2 separate regions of the Homo sapiens genome follow, and region 1 is linked to region 2. Evidence: promoter capture Hi-C in human tissues and cell types (Jung and others, 2019). All regions are on one chromosome and are shown on one strand. The core of a region is centred on a gene start or on the middle of the fragment in contact, and the rest is flanking DNA. Distances in the headings are between cores, read along the strand shown.

Region 1 (4,637 bases), core at 660-3,159, 50 kb after region 2:
CTGATCGATATTTGCTGCATTAAGGAATGAGAGTCAGGGGCCTGCGACGCCGGTGGTTGCAGCATTTATTGAAGGATTTACGTTCTTTTTTGCTCATGTTATGAACAAAGCCTCATTTTCAGGTTTTTTTTTAAGTCCTTTCATTAATTTATTTCTCCTTTTCTTACCTCCTTTTAGATTATTGATTACCTCCACTTTTTTGTGTGCATGGCCAGATGGCAGAGATGCTGTTACAGAGCGGAGCATCTGCCTGGGGCATGTTTCTGCACAAAAGCAGCATTCTACCAGCGACTGGAAGGTTGTTTAGGGGGCCACCTCTCCCAAGGGTCTAAACCCCATAAAAGCAGTTTCCTGAAAACTTCTCTAAGGTTGCCTCTAATGCTGGAAGTTCCTTGAGGGTAGCTACATGTGCTGGCCCCAAGCCCACCAGCCAGCCTAGGAAAGGACTTTTTTGCTTAGCCTTCATTTTAGTGACACTCCTCCCTGCTCTCCCCCACCAGCCACACACACACACACGCAGCGTGAGAGAATTCTTCATGTTCCACGCCATTACTGAAATCTAAATGTGACTATTTAGACTCAAAATCGACCAGGCGGGAACCGTGTTAGTCAGTTTGTCTTATTCTGCAGAGCCCATATCCCACTGTGAATTCTCAGCAAGACATCATAATTATCCATAATTAGATAAAGTCTGAACATTAAACCCGTCCTTCTAAAAACAAAAACTGGTGGTTTGCAACACACTAGATCTTCTGCAGTCCAAAGTTGCGGCTGGAAGGAAGCTGGCAAACTCCTTAAATGCAATGGTGAATAAAGTTTTTGAAATGACAATGGGCCAATACTTTAAAAATAAATCTGTTTCGAATGAAAAGTAATTTAGGATTTAAGACTCCAGTAGTGATGCAAAAAGGAAGGGAAAGGCCTCAAGACACCTTTTGCTAAGTCGGAGCGATTGAATTCATTCCCACCAGCTTGATCCTTTCCTGAAGGCAGCCAGGGAGTGCGTCCAGTCACCCTCAAACATCTCATCAATCTCCTGCCACAAAAATGAATCAGCATTGCACACAGACCCTCATCCTACAGCCCCTCAGCAAAAGCACCTGCCAGGCTGGGTTAGAAAGGAGTGACACGGCCGGCCACAGATGGAAGTCCCCAAGCTGCAGCACTAGGGGGCCAGCGGGAGGAGCGGAGCAGCCCCCACCGTGAGTGCCTCGTCTCCTCCGGGACCTGTCGGTCTCACATTCCCTCCAGCATAGATCTGTCATATCCTGTTGTCAGCGGCAGAGTGGGTGGGCAGATGTGTGCATGGCCAAACAGCAGAGATGCTGTCACAGAGCGGAGCATCTGCCTGGGGCATGTTTCTGCACAAAAGCAGCATTCTACCAGCGACTGGAAGGTTGTTTAGGGGGCCACCTCTCCCAAGGGTCTAAACCCCATAAAAGCAGTTTCCTGAAAACTTCTCTGAGGTTGCCTCTCATGCTGGAAGTTCCTTGAGGGTAGCTACATGTGCTGGCCCCAAGCCCAACCAGCCTAACACCTGGTACATCAGGGCTGAGTTACGCATCTGGTGCCTGCATTGAAACCTCTGTGGCCCAACTGCAGCAGTGTTTTTCTGCCCCGACAGGACTTATGAGAGTCTCCTGGGGTCCCTGCGTCTCCCTGTTCGGCAAACACAGATCTAGGGTCAGACAGTTGTGGGTTCAGATTCCAGCACGGCCACTCAGGCAAGCTCCCTAGCCTCTCCCCAGCCTGGTGAGAAGGGCAGCGCTCACCTTTAGAGGTGATTATGCAGCACAGAAGCAGCACATGGGAGCACCAGACATGGCAGCCAGCACGCTCCAGGTGTCCTCCTTACTAGATTCTGTTTGTTGGCAGGATCTTTAAAAAGACCAGCCATGTGGCATTTCAGAGACTACAGAGATCAGAAACAGAGACAAGTCACTAGGGAGAGGGGCCTTCCCCGACTCCCAAATGCACGGGGATTTCTCCTTTAGGTGAGCTCTCCAGCGGCCTTCAAACTCCCAGCTGGGACCTGCAGCAGAGCCTATGCCCCATCTTGGGGTTACCTAGTCCACTCCTGGGGTCACCTAGCCTCCTCGTGGGGTCCCCTAGTCCCCTCATAGGGTCACGTAGCCCTCTCGTGGGGTCCTCTAGCCCCCTTGTGGGGTCTCCTAGCCCCCTGTGTGGAGTCCCATAGCCCCCTGCATGGGGTACCCTAGCTCCCTCAGGGGATTCCCTAGCCCCCTCATGAGGTCCCCTAGCTCCCTCGTGGGGTCCCTTAGCCCTCTCATGAGGTCCCCTAGCTCCCTCAGGGGATTCCCTAGCCCCCTGTTTGGGGTCCCCTAGCTCCCTCATGGGGTCACCTAGCCCCCTCATGAGGTCCCCTAGCTCCCTCGTGGGGTCCTTTAGCCCCCTCGTGGGGTTCCCTAGCTCCCTCAGGGGATTCCCTAGCCCCCTCATGAGGTCCCCTAGCTCCCTCGTGGGGTCCCTTAGCCCCCTCATGAGGTCCCCTAGCTCCCTCAGGGTATTCCCTAGCCCCCTGTTTGGGGTCCCCTAGCTTCCTCATGGGCTCACCTAGCCCCCTCATGAGGTCCCCTAGCTCCCTCATGGGGTCCCTTAGCCCCCTCGTGGGGTTCCCTAGCTCCCTCGTGGGGTCCCCTAGCTCCCTCGTGGGGCCACCTAGCCCCCTCGTGGGGTCCCCTAGCCCCCTCATGGGGTCACCTAGCCCCCTTGTGGGGTCCCCTAGCTCCCCCATGGGGTCGCCTAGCTCCCTCGTGGGGTCACCTAGCCCCCTTGTGGGGTCCCTTAGCCCCCTCATGGGGTCCACTAGCTCCCTCGTGGGGTACCCTGGCCCCCTTTTGGGGTCACCTAGCTCCCTAGTGGGGTCCCTTAGCCCCCTCATAGGGTCACCTAGCTCTCAGCAGCACATCAGCCTTGCCCGGGAAGGCAGGTGGGTAGTGCAGGCCAGGGACCTTGCCTCACAGGCCCACTGTTCCACAGTTCCCTGTACAGGGCCCATGCTTAGAGCAGCTCTTTTAGGGTCAGGCTACTGTTGACTGGGAAGCCCCAAAAAGATTGGGCCTGAGTCATCCTGGCACCATAGTTACTGTCTGGAGACTTAAGGGATGAGTCTCATTTGTGACTTTCTTCAGATTCTGCAAAATTTATAGCCTGTGAGTCTGTCCTGCCTCCCACCCTCCTTTCCTCATGGGCCCAGACTCCGCCCCGACACTGCCCCAGTTTTGCCTCTCACCCACCCAGCAAACCCTACCCAGGGACAGTCTGATGGCCTCACCTTCTCCATGCCTACCCAGGCTACTGAGTGCCACTGGGTTCTCAGCACTGCCAGACTGTTCAGAACTGTCATCTCCCTGTTCCACCCAACCTCCATTCAACCCTCACTCCCCTCTCAAACCCCTGCCCACTCCCCTCAGCAAGTGACTTTGGCCCTCACTCCATGGGGACTACAGAGATGCATTCCTCCTCCCCACCTTGCTCTCCCAGCTTCTCTTCTGCACCTACACCATCTCTATCTCCCTCTGTCTTAGTCTGCTTCCATTTCTATGAAGGAATAGTCAAGGCTGGGTGATTTATAAAGAAAAGAGGTTTATTTAACTCATGGTTCCTCAAACTGTACAAGAAGCATGGTGCCAGCATCTGCTTCTGGTGAGAGCTTCAGGGAGCTTCCACTCACAGCAGAAGGTGAAGGGAGCAGGTATCACCTGGTTAGAGAGAAGGAAACAGAGAAGGGATCTTTTAAACAACCAGACCTCCAGGTAAACTCATACAGCGAGCACTCATTCATTACAGCAAGGACACTGCAAAGCGATTCAAGAGGGATCCACTCCGATAACCCAAACTCCTGCCGCCAGGCCCCACCTCCAATACTGGGCATCAAATTTCCACAGGAGATTTGGAGGGGACGGATTTCCAAACTATATCACCTTTCCTGCCAGGCACTGGCAGGGGGTCCAGCCTCAGTCTCCCCATCCTCATCCTCTCTAGCCTTCCCTGGGGAATCTCTACCACTGCTCAGCTGTTTCTCCGCTGTGTTCCCAGGCTAAGCTGCTGGCACCACAAACCACCTTCCTGTGCCGATTTGAGACCTGGGAGTCATCCTTGGTTCCCCCTCCCTCCCCACAGGCTGTCTATTCCCTCTTCTGCACAGGATTCCTTCTCTCTTCCCATGGCCATCCTCACCTTGGTTCAGGCACCCTGCCCCCAGCCTGGCCTCCTCCCCCAGTCCTCCCTCTAGGCTGGATTGCATATCTGTCCAAGGTCAGACAATCATCCTTACCCAAGACCCTCAGGACTCCCCTAGCCTCCTGAGTGGGGTCTGCCCCTGACTTTAGCAGTACACCCATGGCCCTCTGTCATCTGGTCTCCATGACCACTCTGACTTAGGTCCTCCCCACTCTCACCCCTCCAGCTTCCCTCGGCCCTCTCCTAATTCTCTGCCATGAAACATGCAGGTTCCTCTGCCTGGAAGACCTTCCTCCCCTCCAAGCCCCCTCTTCAGCTGACCCACTCCTCTCCATCCTTCCAGACCCGGCTCATGCATCAGCACCTCCTGGGGCTATCCCCAGCCTCTAGGGTTAAGGTTATATAGCCCCTGACAATTCTTCTGTCTAGCCTGG
Region 2 (4,746 bases), core at 1,799-4,298:
CAGTGACCTGTGTGCCCAACCTGCCCGGGTGAAGCTCGAGCCCCATTGGACTGGCTCCACACTGTGCAGCTAATGACTTTCATTAAGGAGAGAGGGGGCTTTTAGCCATCCTAGTCTGGAAGGAGCTGGTAATCAAGGCCATAAAACTCAATCACACCTGCCTCGTAGTACACACCACAGGGATGACCTGACTTTACACACTCGCTCTCAAAATTCCCAGCTTACAGAGAATACCAGCTAACGACTGACCTTTATTAATCTTATAAAAGGATTAAATTTCATTCTTTCAACAGGTATTTCCTAAGGTGTCAAGTGTTTGGGGGAAGGTTTCCGTATTTTTCATGACTCCGCTCAAATGCCACCTCCTCCTGAAAGCCCTCTGCAGTCTCAAGTGTGCTATACCTGTGGGCAGGGAGCCTACCTCTGGTCCTGGCTCTGCCCTAAATTTTGTGGTCCCAGGAAGGTGATATGCCCTTTCTGGAGTCCAGCAAAATGAAGGGCCCTTCTAGCATCAGCATCAGTCAAGGAAGGGGTCATCCTGAACGCTCAGAGCCTTTCAGCCCACTGCCCTGAAAAGCACAGGCCATAGCCCAAGCCGAGTGGTGCAGACTGGTCCACACGTGTGCTCCCAGAGACACACACACTGTGCCTGGGCAGTGCCTAGTCCTCCACCAGCACTCGGGGGCTGGCATGGCGTGGGCACAGTTTATGACAGCTGGCTTCCTGGGACTGAGGATCCATCAAGGCAGCAGGGGCAGACTGGGTGGAGGAAGCTGGCAAGAAGTGAGGGGTGGGACTCACCAAGCCTCCGCCTTGGTACTGGCTGCGGGACACATGCCGGAAGCCCTGCTGCAGGGGGACGCCAGGAGGGGCGTCCAGGTAGCCCAGCGGGAACGGGCAGTAGGGGTGCATGCTGGAGCCACCAGGGTACTCAGGGCCCAGTGCACGGTCCGGGTTGATGTTCAGAGGGCGCACTAAAGAACGCAAGCAAGGAGGGAAGTGTTAGACACCGCTGGGAAAAGCATCCGCAGGGCGGCCCAGGGCGGCGGGGTCATCAGCGCTGCCGTCCAAGCACAGAAAGCCCACCCCGCACTTCCTTCCGCTGGGCCCTCACTGCATCTCCATCCTCCAGCCAGCCCCACTGCTCTTGGAAAGTCCTCAGCACGGCCATCAAGCCCGCTGTGGGCCGGGGCCGCCTCCAGACCTCCCCGCTGCCCCACACACCGTCAGCCCGCACTCTGCCTCTCTGAGGCCTCAGTGCCGAGCTCCTCCTCCTCCTCCGGGTCACAGTGAACCCGGCCATGGCTCAAGCCCTGGACACTGATTTGTGTGACTCTTTGATCAACCCTGTCCCTCCCACAAGGACAAGGTCCTTGAGGGCAAGAAATGTGACCCGCGTCCTCCATCACGAATGCCTGGCTCATGGTTCGGCTCAGCCCTGCTTGTCTGTTGAGATGGAAAAAAGAAAGGTGGCTTCTCCTAGATCTGCAGTTTCAGGCCTGTGACCCTGTCAGATGGGACGTTCCCTGGGGACCTAGATTTTCCTGGAAAGTCAGGGGGGCGGGACGAGCCTGCGGGAGCCTCCGGACCAGTGCCCTGGCACACAGAGGGCAGGAGCTTGTCCAGCGTGACCCGGGCCCCCGCCTCGGCCTGAGCCCGTCCCACCACACCACCACGGGGGAGACACCAGGAAAACGCGTCCGCACCAAACCCCGGGGCTTCTAAAGCTTCAAATGTACATGTGACTTGAAACTACTTCAATACCAAAAGCTCCAAGGCACAGGGAACAATGTAATTTATGTACAAGGTGAAGGGAGAAAAGAAAGGCAACATCTTTACTGACCAACTGTTCTCGTGTGTGGAGTAAAGAAGCAGGCTCCCCTCACCTGCACGTGGGGAAACGGAGGGAAGAGGTGCGCAGGCGCACTGGGCCAGGGCGGAGCTGAGGGGAGGAGCCTCCCGACCGCGAACCGGGAGGGAAGAGTGCGCAGGCGTCCTTGCGCTAACGTGCCGGCAGGAAAATTCTGTTATTCTGGAGGAGGAGCCTCCAGCCCAAGGAAATGGCGGGAAGAGGTGCGCAAGAGCAGTAGGACTCGGCTCCTCGAAGCCTCCCCCGGAGGAGGAAGCACTGCTAAGTCGACTGGACGCCATTTTGTTCTTGCATGCCGGAATGGCACAAACTACAGCTAAATGTTAAAAGCCCTCTGAACCGCCCATTCCTTTCTGTTTCTCGTTTCCTTTTTGCGAAAAGTTACCCAATCCAAATCCCTGTTCGAAGAAGGGTTTCTCAAAGCGGAAGGTCCGTTACCCGTGGAAAAACTTCTCTCCACCCCGAACCCCTATGCCAGCTCCCCATCCGGGCTGGCCTGGGCTGCCAGCTCCGGGAGTCGACCGCGGGACCAAGGCCACGACTTACCAAAGTCGGTGAACAGTGGGCCGGGCACGGTCCGCATCGGCCTGCGCAGGTCTAGGGGGCCAGGGTAGCCACTGCCTGCGGCCTCCGCCCCAAAAGGGGGTCCCGCAAGGCTGGGCATCGCCACGGCGGCTCGCTCGCTCGGCTCCACGTGGCTGCGGCCGCCCAGAACCGGCTGGAGGGCTCTCGGGCCGGGGTTCCGGCCCCGCGGGGGCTGCTCGAAGAAGCAAGCGGCCGCGCGGCCCTCGGGTCCCGGGTCGGCGTCTCCGGAGGGAGTCCCCGGGGACAGCGGGCGGAGGCTCGCGGCCGGGACGGGGACGGGGGCGGGGGCGGCGGCCGCAGCCCCGGAGGCCTGCTTGGGCCCCTGCGCACACAGGGCCGCCTCCTGCTCCTCCTCGGCGGCCTGCGTCTTGAGCACCTTCTGCGCGGCCATGATCTTCTGGCGCTCGGAGATCAGGTAGCACTTCTCGCAGAGGCACTGCTTCCAGCGGCATTTGCCCGCGTGTCCCTTGACGGGCACCAGGAAGCCATGGTTCCTGCATCTCGAGCACTTGGGGGTGCGCACCATTTTGTCGGCCATTGGCAGGGTCAGCCTTCGTAACACAACCACCACCTCTGGGAGCTGCAGAGCAAGTGGCGCTGGGATGAGCCGCGCCCCACAAGTCCCTCGTTCTGGGGACATTGGATACACTTGTAACAAAGCGGCTCGCAGTGTGTCCCGGGAACTGCAGCAGGAACCTTGCATTTTCCCTCCTTTTGGGGGGTGCACAGTTTGGAGAGTTTCTGTGCTTTGGGTAATTAGATGCAATGGATTGGGTTGAATAAATTCTTCATGGGATGCTATTGCATGTATGTCATTTAGCTTATCTGAAGTCTTAGGCATGTAATTTTCCAAACTCTGTTCCCGCCACCGACGGAAGGTATTTGTAACTTTATGAAAGGCGGAGTGATATTCAACGGTCCACAAATTTAAAACTCGGGAGGAATGTAGCTCTCGGTGTAGAAAAATACTGTAAGAGGCAAACTGTATTTCTTCTCCCCAAAGCTGCTCCTTCTGTGGCAGTTCACTTCTCTGCCCTGCAGAGATGCTTCCAGGATATTCCAGAATATTCTCAAGAGTTCAGTGCAGTGTGATGGTTGCTCAAGGGTATGCCCTTACAGTAATTCCCGTTTCTTGAGAGTCTTGATGTAGGAATGCATTTCTGGATGTTGATGCCTTCCAAAGTGAGCATACTTAGAATATTTTAAAGTAAAATAGACAGAATATTGTAGCACTAAGCCTGGCATAGTGTCCTGTGCCTGTAGCCCTAGCTACTCGTGAGGATCACTTGAGCCCAGTAGTTGGAGACCAACCTGAGCAACATAGCGAGACTCCTCTTTCTAAAAAATTAAATAAAAAATTCTGCAAGACCCCTCTTTCTAAAAAATTAAATTAAAAAAAATTTCTAGCACTAGCTTCAGTGATTGCTTAACCTCATCATGAACTTCGTTATCCTTGTAAAACAACCCAAATCTTGGGACATCTGAAAAGTTAGCACAAACGTCATAGTTTACCCGAGGGCATTAATTGTTTTTTTTTGTTTTTTTTTTTTTTTTTGAGACAGAGTCTTGCTTTGTCACCCAGGCTGTAGTGCAGTGGCAGGATCTTGGCTCACTGCAACCTCCGCCTCCCAGGTTCAAGCGATTCTCCTGCCTCAGCCTCCTGAGTAGCTTGGATTACAGGCGCCCGCCACCATGCCCAGCTAATTTTTGTATTTTTAGTAGAGACGGGGTTTTCGCCATGTTGGCCAGGCTGGTCTTGAACTCCCGATCTCAGGTGATCCACCGGCCTCGGCCTCCCAATGTGCTGGGATTACGGGCGTGAGCCACCGCGTCCGGCCATTAATTCATTTTTTAAAAACAAATTTGTGACACCCTGAGGCATCTCTCTCTCTCTCTCTCTCTCTCTCTCTCTCTCTCTGTCTCTCTCTCCCGCCCCTCCCCCCCACCACCCCACTGCCTCCATTTCCCTCCCCTCCCCTCTCCTCCCTTCTTTGTCCAAAAAAAGGAAAAAATGGGCCACTAACAAGCTGAAAAGCTTCTAATTAGATCAGTCGCATTTAAGGAGGTAGTTACAGTTAATATGTGGCTAAAACTTGTGCATTTTTCATTGCTCTTTCTTTGAATTTCTCTCTTTCTGTTGGTAGAATGGGAGAAGCCCACGCCTGGTGTCCACCTTGATTTTCCTGAGTCCGTGATTGTAGTTGTACCTTGCGTTTCTCACTAGCTGCCTGGGAATAGGAAATGGTTACCATTGGGGGGCTTATTAGATCTGGAAAGCGAAAAAAGGTTTT

Evidence for each region. The method cuts DNA at HindIII sites, captures the fragments that hold promoters and counts their contacts. A contact is called where the count stands out against the background at its distance.
Region 1: a contact is called between a fragment that was not itself captured here and the fragment with the promoter of DMRTB1 in region 2, in 1 of the 25 tissues and cell types used here (aorta).

The regions. Positions count from the first base shown.
Region 1 is chr1:53,406,877-53,411,513 of GRCh38, reverse strand. No RefSeq gene overlaps it. Among named protein-coding and RNA genes, the nearest start is that of LINC02812, 41 kb to the right of the region's middle. RefSeq lists an enhancer at 2,447-3,042. The HindIII fragment of the contact is 6,842 bases long and covers 1-4,637 here.
Region 2 is chr1:53,457,701-53,462,446 of GRCh38, reverse strand. DMRTB1 (DMRT like family B with proline rich C-terminal 1) reads right to left here and starts at 3,048. Exons shown (of 4, transcript NM_033067.3): 1 at 2,417-3,048; 2 at 802-974. The coding sequence starts at 2,993. The HindIII fragment of the contact is 5,631 bases long and covers 533-4,746 here.